4 separate regions of the Homo sapiens genome follow, and regions 1, 2 and 4 are each linked to region 3. Evidence: promoter capture Hi-C in human tissues and cell types (Jung and others, 2019). All regions are on one chromosome and are shown on one strand. The core of a region is centred on a gene start or on the middle of the fragment in contact, and the rest is flanking DNA. Distances in the headings are between cores, read along the strand shown. Region 1 overlaps NCKAP1 (NCK associated protein 1). Region 2 has its middle 69 kb from the start of FRZB. Region 3 holds the start of FRZB (frizzled related protein). Region 4 overlaps NCKAP1 (NCK associated protein 1).

Region 1 (2,700 bases), core at 84-2,583, 130 kb after region 3:
ATTTTGTAGAATCATACACACATATTTAACTTCTTTGACTTGAACTATACAAAAATATTTTTCATACAACAGGGCCCCTAAAACAAGCCAATTATTCAATCTGGCACACAATCAAAGAAACAGAATACATGTATGAAAGATTAAAGAGCCCTCAAGAGAAATTTTGTTTATAAAACATTATCCTCTTATGTACTTGACTTTCCACCCTAATATCAAGTGAAATCAGATTTCACTTAGTGTCTTACACCTTTGTACGTTAACACTTACAAAATACTTGCTACTACTAATACAAAGTTTCTCTGAAAATTTTTATCACTTACAAGTTAAAAGTGTTTGTTTTTAACATACGTGTTATGAGTTAAAGTATATTTATTTGTTTAAATTGGACCAAAAAAGGCAAATGAATTTAAAATAGATTGCCCAGGCTGGGCATGATGGCTCACACCTGTAATCCCAACACTATGGGAGGCCAAGACAGATGGATCACTTGAGGTCAGGAGTTTGAGACCAGTTTGGCCAACATGGTGAAAACCCCATCTCTACTAAAAATACAAAAATTAGCCAAGCATGGTGGTGGGCACCTATAATCCCAACTATATGGGAGGGTGAGGCAGGAGAAACGCTTGAACTTGGGAGGTGGAGGGTGCAGTGAGCTGAGATCATGCCACTGCACTCCAGCCTGGGTGACAGAAAAGACTCAAGTCTCAAAAGAATAAAATAAAATAAAATAGATTGCCCAAGATTAGGGGGATGACTTATTAATTAAACTACACATCAATCTCCTTTACCAAAATTAGGATGAAAGGACAAAAAAAAAAAAATTTAAAAGTAGCTCTTAAAACAGAAGACCAAGTCTTGACAAGAAAGTTGAAGAAAATCTTTGAAGGCAGAAAACAGATAAAATTGGACTATCAATATAAAAAACAAGGCAGAAATTAGTAATCCAAAACTCTGGAGATAGGAAAAAAAATCTTTCCTAAGGAGTCTCCCAAGTCCAATCAACAGACCCAAAAATGAACCCTAAAATACGTATCAGGATAATTAATTTTACATCTGTACTTCAAGTGCTGGGTCCTCAATATTCTAGGTCCTGCACAACTCTTAGCATCGGGCTATAATCTAGAGCAGTGATTCTTAAACTTTAGCTTGCACCAGAATCACTGAGAAAGTACATTAAACAGATTGTTAAGATCCATCTGCAGAGTTTCTGTTTAGTAGGTCTTGGGTAGGGACCAAGATTCTGCACATCTAAGAAGTTCCTAGGTGTTGCTGATGTTGCTGGTCTAGGAACCACACTTTGAACTAATCCAGAACAAAGGTCCAAAGAAAGTAGACTACCTATTGAAGAAAAATCCTAGTCTGGGTAGTAGTTCCAAAAAGAGAAGTGCAGAATTTGAGGCAACTCCTAACCTCCAGATTAGCTCTACTCAGGGTTCAAATACATGAAAGAAGCAAAATTCATTCCTTATTTTGGCAACTGTGGTTATCCCAAATCTGCCTTCTCCATGCCCATATATTCCCCATTAGGGGAGCCTGCTTCCTGATCGACTTACCGGCTCATTACACAAACTCATGCCATCAGCATTCCCGTTTAAAATAAAGACCAGTGGGAAGCAAAATCCAGAAGTCACTAATGACAGCTAACTCTACTAATTAACTCAATTATTCATCTGTACATCCATAAGCACAAAACAACTAATAATTACCACACAACCGAGCAAGATCAAAACTCTGAAAGCTGTTTTTCTAAATAAACTATGAGACAAAGCATGATAATTTCACTTATCTTTATAGAAGAAAATATAAATATCACAAACCTGGTCAATGTAAAAAATAATATAATTAATAAAAATAGCTACGGCCAGATAGTATTGTTAAATTTCCCCTCTTTCATACTAAAAACACACTACTCAAAGTATCAGTCCATAATGAGACTAAGTATTGGAACAGGGTATTTAGAAATTTTCATAAATATTTCACAGTGATTTTGGAGTAGAAACTTAATAATCTGTTAGACTGAATCTAGTAATAAAAACTATGAGCTTGTATTTTATGTCTTTATTATTTTGTTTTTCTGGTAATTCTAGTAATTCATTTTCTTTATTTTATTAAAGGATCAATCCAAAAAATATTAAAGAAGAAAAACTAGTCCTTCACCATAGTTTGAGAAACACTGTAATAAAAAGTCAACAAATACAGTCATCTCTCAATGTAGGGGATTGGTTCCAGGACCATCAACAGATACCAAAATCTGTGGATGCTGAAGTTCCTTATATAAAATGGTGTAGTATTTACATATAACCTACACACTTCCTCCTGCATAATTTAAATCACCTCCAGATTACTTGTAATACCTAATACAATACCTACACATCACTTCATTTGCGTGGACTCAATGTAATACTCATTATGCAGTAAGTTTTGCTTTTTGGACCTTTGTGAAATTTTTTCCCGTATTTTAATTGGCTGTTGACTGAATCTCTGGATGCAGAACCCCAGGATATAAAGGGCCAACTCTATTCTCTAAAGGTTAATAAATCAAGAACAAAACCTGTAAGAATGAAAAAACACAAACACTTCAAAATTATTCCCCTGTGGCAGTGAGCCTAGGGGTGAGTAGGAGGAATTTATCTATATTACAGAAATTCTCATTCTGTATTAAACCTGTGTGTCTCCATGGAATAGTACACAGCCATAATA
Region 2 (2,700 bases), core at 19-2,518, 70 kb before region 3:
ATTTTATTTCAAATGAAACATAACTGAAGGGAAAAGGGAAACTCATCCATGGAACTATGAAAAATTAATTTGACTGTATGTGTGCAGTCTAGGGAAAATGCAAATAAATCTTGAACTCTTTTTCGTAGTTTTTTTTTTTAATTATGATATGGGTGTAGCAGTTCCTAAATTCCCTGTATACCATGGAACTGAGCAAATGAGTTAATATGTTGATGTTGTTGAGAGCTGGGATTCTCATTATGGGGGAAAAGAAGTTCAAATGCAGAAAGAATAAAGTCAAGAAAGTGGAGTTGGATTGAAATTGGAGGCGTAAGCCAACAGGGAAGGTAGGTGTGTGCATGGATGGATGGGTAGACATGGTGGTATGCTGGAGCTTAGTCCTATTGGCTCATTAGACACAATTATGCATCTTTTCCCAAATCTGCATTTAGTGACCTCACATTAGTAGCTTGAAACCAGCCAGTACTTACACCATGGAAATTGGCAAATACTAGAAATTAGGTCTTCTGGCCCCTTCCCCCAGACCTAGTTGTTAAACTTTTCCAGCTCACCACTGGATAGATACGTTTTGTAGCTCTATCTGCTTAAAAGGTCTAAAAGCAATTACACCTCAGCAGAAAACCTCAGCATGTAATGTCCAGATCTTAGCTTCTAAATTTCATTCCTTGGTTGGAAAAATTACTGATTTCAGGACTGCCATAGAAAAGGTACAGGTGGGGCTACAACATCTTTTTATGACAGAAAGTAAGGATCCACTCAAAAACTAAAATACCTATGTCATAAGGACACACAAGGCAGCTTGAAGGGACATCCTCTGTCCAAATCTCAGACATCAATACAAGGTCAGTAATAAATTATAACCCATTGAATAAAATAGGAGTCCCTGAGGCCATACTGATGATAGAATGAGAAAGGGAGGGGGGCATAAAAGGGGAGGGAAGGAAAGACAGAGAAGCCAACAAAGGCTCTTCCTTATAGCACCATGTAAACTGATAAATGAAGGAGTGCTGGAGTTATTTTTTTTAAAAAATCAACATTTTGTGATGATACTAGCAAAAATTGGTTCAGAAAAAAAGTAATCCAAAAAAAAAGGATGCTAAATTGGGGAAATTCAATAAGGAGCGGAAGCATTTCTGTGGTCTCAAAGTGTCTCTCCACAGACTTTATTAGTTACAAGGGGGAAAAGAGTAACTATAGAGTAGAAGGATGATTACACCTCAACCAGGTGATCGTATTACCAATGGGGAGCAAAGGGATAAAGTGTATCTCCAGATATAATGTCCTGAGAAGGAAATATTACTTTTATGGTATTCCAGCTGGGTGTGTATAACCTGAATCTAATAAAGAGGGAACATCAGAGAACCCTAAATTGAGAAACATTTTAAAATATCAATATCAAAAACATCTTTGAAAAGACACCACCAAAGAAAGTACAGACAATAAACACATAAAGTACGCTCAAGATAATTAGTCATTAGGGAAATGCAAGTTACAACCATAATAAGATACTACTACACAATTGCTAGAATCATTATAATTAAAGATAGGCCATTGTAAATATTGGCTAGAAAATGGAAGATCTGGCCAGGTATGGTGGCTCATGCCTGTAATCCCAGCACTTTGGGAGGCCAAGGCGAGTGGATCACCTGAAGTCAGGAGTTCAAGACCAGCCTGGCCAACATGGCAAAACGCTGTCTCTACTAAAAATACAAAAATTACCTGGGCGTGGTGGCAGGCTCCTGTAATCTCAGCTACTCGGGAGGCTGAGGCAAGAGAATCACTTGAACCTGGGAGGTGGAGGTTGCAGTGAGCCAAGATCGTGCCACTGCACTCCAGCCTGGGTGACAAGAGTGAAACTCCTTCTCAAAAAAAAAAAAGAAAAAAGAAAACGGAAGATCTGGAACTCTCATATAACGCTATTGGAATACACAATTGTACAACCACTTTAGAAGTTTAACAGTGTAAGTTAAACATACACCTATCATATAATACAGGCATTTCCTTATAGGTATTTACCTAGAAGGTACATAAGTCTATACAAAGACTTGCTTGTAACTATTCATGGTTTCATATGTAACAGCCATGGAAACAACCCAAATGTCCATCAACAGGTGAATGGATAAATAATCCACACAAAATAATACTTCTCAATAAAAATGAATGAGGCTGAGCACAGTGGCTCATACATATAATCCTAGCACTTTGAGAGACTAAGGTGGGAGGATCACTTGAGTCCAGGAGTTTGAGACAAGCCTGGGCAACATAGCAAGACCCCATCTCTAAAAACAACAAAAAGTTTTAATTAGCCAGGTGTGATGGTGTGCACCTGTAGTCCTAGCTACTTTGGAAGCTGAGGTGAAAGAATCACTTGAGCCTAGGAGTTTGAGGCTGCAGTGAGTTGTGATCGCACCACTACGCTCCAGCCTGGGCAACCAAGAGAGACCCCATCTCTGATAAATAAAATAACATAAAATAGATAAAATTTAAAAATGAAACACTGATACATGCAACAACATAGATGACTCAAAGTAGTTATGCTGAAAGAAAAAAGCTACATACCTTGTCATTTCATTTATATAAAATTCTAAAAACAGTGATGGAAGGCACATTAGTGGTTGCGTGGGAAATGAGAAAAGAGTGAGTGGCTGGAAGAAGTTACAAAAGAACACGAAGAAACATTTGGTGGTGAAGAATATGTTT
Region 3 (2,700 bases), core at 115-2,614:
CTTAAATATAACTCCTTTCATCTGTATGCCACTTATAAAATGACTTGAAGGCATGTGGGCATGTGAAAAGAGCTCAGTAATTTCAGTCTGCCAGCTCTATGGCAAGCCACAGAAGCTAATTAACAGTGCATAGCAATGTTTCACAATTGTTTCATTCTGGAATGGAAGAACAATTTATCTCATTGAAAGGAGGGGGAAATTTAAGGTGAAGGTAATTGCTCAAACTGGATCTTGAGCAAACACATACCCCTAACATCTGTCGGTTAGAGTAAGGTTATTGAAATTATCTTGGCATTTTTAATTAGAAGAAAATGGGGCTTCAGTTTTCTGTTTCCTCCACACAATCTTAACAAGCATCTAAGACACTAAAGATACAGAAACCTGATGACTGAGATTGCCTGAGAATCAGCAAAGAAAACCCAATGATTATAAACACATTTTAAAAGAAAAAGAGCATCACTTTACAAAATGTGGCTACTTGCACATGTAAGGAGTTGAAGTGAAGGATTCCTGTGGAGTAGAAGTGTGATGGGTTTGGAATGCATGGATTGTTTTAGAAAGATCGCCTATTGGAACACAGTGCCAGAGTGCATCAGTTTGGAAGGTGATAAGGTGAGGGTTTTTTTGTTTTTGTTTTTGAAAAAAGAAGAAAGAAGAAGAAGGGTCTTTGATAGAGGAGCAGTTATGGGAGAGATTAAGTGATCCGAAGAGAAAAAAATTAGAGAGTAAAGGCTAGTAACAAGGACTCCAAGAATTGAGGAGGCTGTAGGGTAAGGGAAGGGTGGGCCGTGTCAAAACTCACCAGCTCCGTCCGCAGTAACGATGGCCTCGGGAGAGATGCACACGCCCCTGTCGTACACTGGCAGCTCCTCGCAGGCCAGGTTCTCCGGCCACGAGTGGCGGTACTTGATGAGTATGGGCTCACAGCCCTGCCGGGCCCGCTCGCACACAGACTTACAGGGCTTGATGGGCTCGTGCTGGAAGTCAATGGTGCAGATGGGCGCGTACATGGCACAGAGGAAGAAGAGCAGATCGGGGCTGCAGTGGGTGCCCAGCAGACCTTCGAACTGCTCGATGGCCAGGATGGCGTTGGCCTGAGTGCTGTGGTGCAGGTGGTTGGGCATCTTAGTCATGTTCCAGGGCAGGGACTTGCACAGGGGGATGCGGACGGGCTCACAGGCTGCAGCCCGAGCCCCGGGCACCCGGAGCAGGCAGAGAGCAGCCAGGGCAAGCAGCCCGGCCCGCAGCAGCAGCATCCCTCCCGGGCTGCCGCAGACCATGATCCCGGCAGGATGGGGCAGGGTGCAGCCGCGCAGTGGACGCCAAAAGGCCCGCTCCGCCGTCTCCGCCTCCCCCGCTGCAAGTGGACACAAGGATCTGGGAGCTTCTCCTCCCCCGGCAATCACCGCTTCCTTGGATCAAATTCCCCCAATGGGGTCCCACGAGCTTTACCGAGCTCCAGCCACCGCCCCTGCCGCCCAGGCTGCTCTTTCCCAACGTCTAAGCCTTCGGAAGCAGCAACATCTATTTATTCCTCTCCCTCTGGCAGAAGCATCAGACTTCGCAGATCAGTCAGATAAGAGGGACACGAGAGGAGGCGAGGAAGACATAAAAACAAAAGTAGAATTCAGCTGAGAGCTAGTTGGAGCTCTGGGGTGTCTCCTCCCCTAGATCACGCACACAAAAAGATGCTAAAGAAAGCATTAAATTCCCCAAAGTGAGGAGGACAGAGGGGTTGGGGGGAAGGAGGGAGGAAAAGCTCCTAATGGGAGAGAAGGGTGCAGTAAGAGTTTACAAGTCCTGTGTGGGCTAAGAGCTGCGGCCGCCGCTGCGGCTGCGACCCTGGCTGGCAGGAGGGACGCTCAGGAGGAGCCCCGCAGGGACGTCTGTGCCTCTGCCCGGGCGGCTCTGCACTTTCCTACCTCCCGCCTGAGAGGGAGCTCCGCCCCTGGGGCAGTCTCTGCCCTCCAGTGCCGGCTGCTCTTCCCGAGAATGGAGTGGGCGCCCGGGGAAGAGAAGGCCTGGGAGTCGCAGGCGGTGGGGTGCGAAGCCGTGCGAGTGCGAGACCCCAAGACAGCGCCGAGTCGAGCGCGCCCTCACACTAGGGAACCCGTCTTTGGCCCCAGAAACGAGCCCCTAGCCCCTCACTGAAGAGCCCACCCCAATTCCCTACGGAAAAGTCCCCCTAGTTCCCCACTTGGGAACCCACCCGAGACCCTCCTTCCTGGAGGTATTTCCTTTAAGCAAACTACAGCTTTTCCTCTGCAATCACTGGCTCTGCAGAAAGTCAGACCTGGTGGGGGGAAAGGCTTAAGCAATGTCACTTTGTCCAAGTAGCGGAAAACACAGACCCCTGCGAGCAACGGTGGAGCCATATCAACCCAGAGCTAGTGACTACAGAGGTCTCCATTTTCAATAACTGCGGGGGAGGAGGTGGGGGGAGGATTGCCTTTAAAAAAAAAAAAAAAGAGAGAGAGAAACAAAGAAATGCTGTTCATGACTACAAATAGGCCACCAGAAGCAAGGAAAAGGGGTTTTTTCCTTCTATTCCCGCCCCCCCCACCTAGTGGAATTAGAACTCTTGAGCTTTGCTCCTTAAGGGTTAACGTGGAAACTAACAGCTCTAATACACTTGGACTTTTTTTTTCTGATTTTGCTCACGGATAACATGGCAGATATTATTTGTTATTCTCAGCAACA
Region 4 (2,700 bases), core at 187-2,686, 110 kb after region 3:
ACCCAAGTGTCTATCAATAGATAAATGGTAAATATATACACAATGGAATATTATTATGCCATAAAAAATGAAATCCTGTCTGTTGCAACAACATAGACGGAACTGGAAGAAATTATGTTAAGTGAAATAAGCCAGGCACAGAAAAACAAATGTCACATGTTCTTACTCCTAAGTGGATGCTAAATAAATTGATCTCATGGACGCAGAGAATAGTATGATGGTTATAAGAAGCTGAGTAGGGAAGGTAGGAAGTGGGAATAAAGAAGGATTGGTTAATGGGTACAAAAGTACAGTTAGGAGGAATAAGAACTAGTATAGCACAATGGGGCAACTATAGTTAATAATTTTCTGCATCTTTCAAAATAACCAGAAGAGTAGATTTGGAATGTTTCCAATATGATGATATGTGTTTGAGGTGATGAAATATTCCCACTACCCAGATTTGTTCATTATACACTGTATGCTTGTATCAAAATATCACATGTACCCCCATAAATATGTACAACTATTATGTATTCATAAAAATTTAAAATTAAAAAAATTAAATCAGAATTTAAATAACATTGTGAAAACAAATTCAGAAGAAATGGATGGTAACAAAACAAGATAATGATTTAACTGCTTGACAACAATGGGGGGAGAAACATGTTACTAAAAAAGAATAGGTTTAAGTAAAAGAATATAAACAATTTGAATAAATTAGAAGACAGACGAGAGAAGATATTTGAAAGAGCAACTAAAAATGCTTAAGGGACTGATGGAATACACAACAGAATGAGATCACTTAGGAAGTAGAAAAGAATGACAAAAATACAAAGAGAATTCTTAAGAGTAGGAAAAGGACAGAGAAAGATGAAAGTGACCTATAAAAAAGCAATGACCTTAGAACCAAACTAAATAGGACACCAGTGAAGGCACAAAGTACACTACTAAAATTCTCCCAAAGGCTTACTCTTCTGGTCTGCTCTACTCAACCACTACTGGCTATCTATAGAACTCTTCACCACTCTCTGGCCATGTGCTTTTACCTAACAATTCTTGCACTTCTACCTGAAACCAAAGGTCAGTGATCAAAGGCAGATCATTCATAGTTCTTGTGAATATTTTCCCCTTCTTACAGTAATCCTTTATACTCAAAAGTCTCTTTACTTGCTCTTTACTCATTGTTTGTCCTTTCCTTTTTCCTATTCAAAGCAATTTTAACTTGAAAAATGCTTTATCCCTTCTAAGACTGAAATTAACTGATAAACATATTCTGTCTATGACATCTCTTAATCTTTCAGATTTTCAGCTGCTATTTTTTACATTTTTTATGCTTTGTCTCCATAGCTAGATTATAAAATCCTCAAAAGATGAATGTGCTATTTTTCTACAGATTATATAATACTGCTCAGTATTTTATCTTCTGTATCCTACAGTCTAATCTGTAGGCTTGGAACTTTCACCTTTGAGCTGCTTTTCAATACCTATGTAAACCTTCTAGATTCTGGACCCTGCCTGCTACCTTGCACTTTTGTTCTCTACTTCTAGTGAACACTTCTCTGGCTTAGTGTTATGTCCCATTCTTTCCTTCCTTTGTATGCATTGTCCTGTTGTCACTAAAAAAAAAAAAAAAAAAAAAAGGGTCTGTATGCAGTAGAAAGGGTCTGAGTGACTGCATGTTCTAAACGTGGTTAACAGCAATGTTATGCATTGAATTGTATCCCCGAAGAAAAGATGTGCCTAAATCCTAACCCCCAGTACCTCAGAATGTGACCTTATTTGGAATTAGGGTCTTTCCAGAGCTAAGCACATAAAAATGAGGTCATTTGAATGGGACCTAATCAAATATAACTGGTAGCCCTATAAAAAGGGAAAATTTGAACATGAAATATGCAAAGAGGAAAAATGAAGTGAAGAAACACAGGGAGAATGCCTTTAGAGTAATGCAACTACAAGCAAGGAACAACAAAGATTACCAGCAAATCACCAGAAGCTAGGAGAGAGAGATGGAAGAGGTTCTCCCTTGCAGTCCTTGAAACAAACCAACCCTGCCAACACCTTGCTTTCAGACTGCCAGCCTTCAGAACTATGAAATAATACATTTCTATTGTTTAAGCCATCTAGTTGGTACTTTGTTATGGCAGCCCTAGGAAACTAACACAAGTAGGTATAGATTACATGAAAAAAAAATCAGATAGCTAGCTAATAATGCTCTTATAAAAATCTTAAAAAACTTTAAAAATCTACACATAGGAATAATCAGGTCTACATTCTTCATGTTCACTCAATGCTTTTTATTTTGCAGTGACTGAAAAAGGCTAAAATTCTCACATGAATAACTCAAATGTAAGGGTGCATCTGAAATGCATCTAAATCTCTAAAATTCTCTGAGCCCAAGTATTGGTTTAGGCACTCCTATAAACCCAGAACAGGAGATTGAAGCAGTTCAAGCTTTATGACAATGACTTTCAAAGTTTTAAACATGTATATCCTTTGGCAGAGGAAATTCCACTTCTTTTTTTTACAAGTTCTACTTTTGTATTGTTTCATTGCCTTTTTAAAAACAAAGAGGTGTCAATTTTAAAACTTTATTTGTAATAAGAAAATAACCTATAATATATACACATTTAACATTTTGGGATGTTGGTATTTCAAGTGTACTTCCCTGATCTCCCACTAACTGGTAAGGTATTTAATGCTTTTATTTATAAAAGTCTT

Evidence for each region. The method cuts DNA at HindIII sites, captures the fragments that hold promoters and counts their contacts. A contact is called where the count stands out against the background at its distance.
Region 1: a contact is called between a fragment that was not itself captured here and the fragment with the promoter of FRZB in region 3, in 2 of the 25 tissues and cell types used here (heart left ventricle and mesendoderm cells).
Region 2: a fragment that was not itself captured here is called in contact with the fragment with the promoter of FRZB in region 3 in 2 of the 25 tissues and cell types used here (mesenchymal stem cells and neural progenitor cells).
Region 4: a fragment that was not itself captured here is called in contact with the fragment with the promoter of FRZB in region 3 in 2 of the 25 tissues and cell types used here (mesenchymal stem cells and neural progenitor cells).

The regions. Positions count from the first base shown.
Region 1 is chr2:182,990,853-182,993,552 of GRCh38, forward strand. All of the region lies in intron 8 of NCKAP1 (NCK associated protein 1), which reads right to left. Among named protein-coding and RNA genes, the nearest start is that of NCKAP1, 46 kb to the right of the region's middle. The HindIII fragment of the contact is 4,014 bases long and covers 1-2,700 here.
Region 2 is chr2:182,795,828-182,798,527 of GRCh38, forward strand. No RefSeq gene overlaps it. Among named protein-coding and RNA genes, the nearest start is that of FRZB, 69 kb to the right of the region's middle. The HindIII fragment of the contact is 5,379 bases long and covers 1-2,700 here.
Region 3 is chr2:182,865,273-182,867,972 of GRCh38, forward strand. It overlaps FRZB (frizzled related protein), which reads right to left and starts at 1,365. Exons shown (of 6, transcript NM_001463.4): 1 at 803-1,365. The coding sequence starts at 1,280. RefSeq lists an enhancer at 528-1,496. The HindIII fragment of the contact is 7,330 bases long and covers 1-2,700 here.
Region 4 is chr2:182,972,660-182,975,359 of GRCh38, forward strand. All of the region lies in intron 15 of NCKAP1 (NCK associated protein 1), which reads right to left. Among named protein-coding and RNA genes, the nearest start is that of NCKAP1, 64 kb to the right of the region's middle. The HindIII fragment of the contact is 7,019 bases long and covers 1-2,700 here.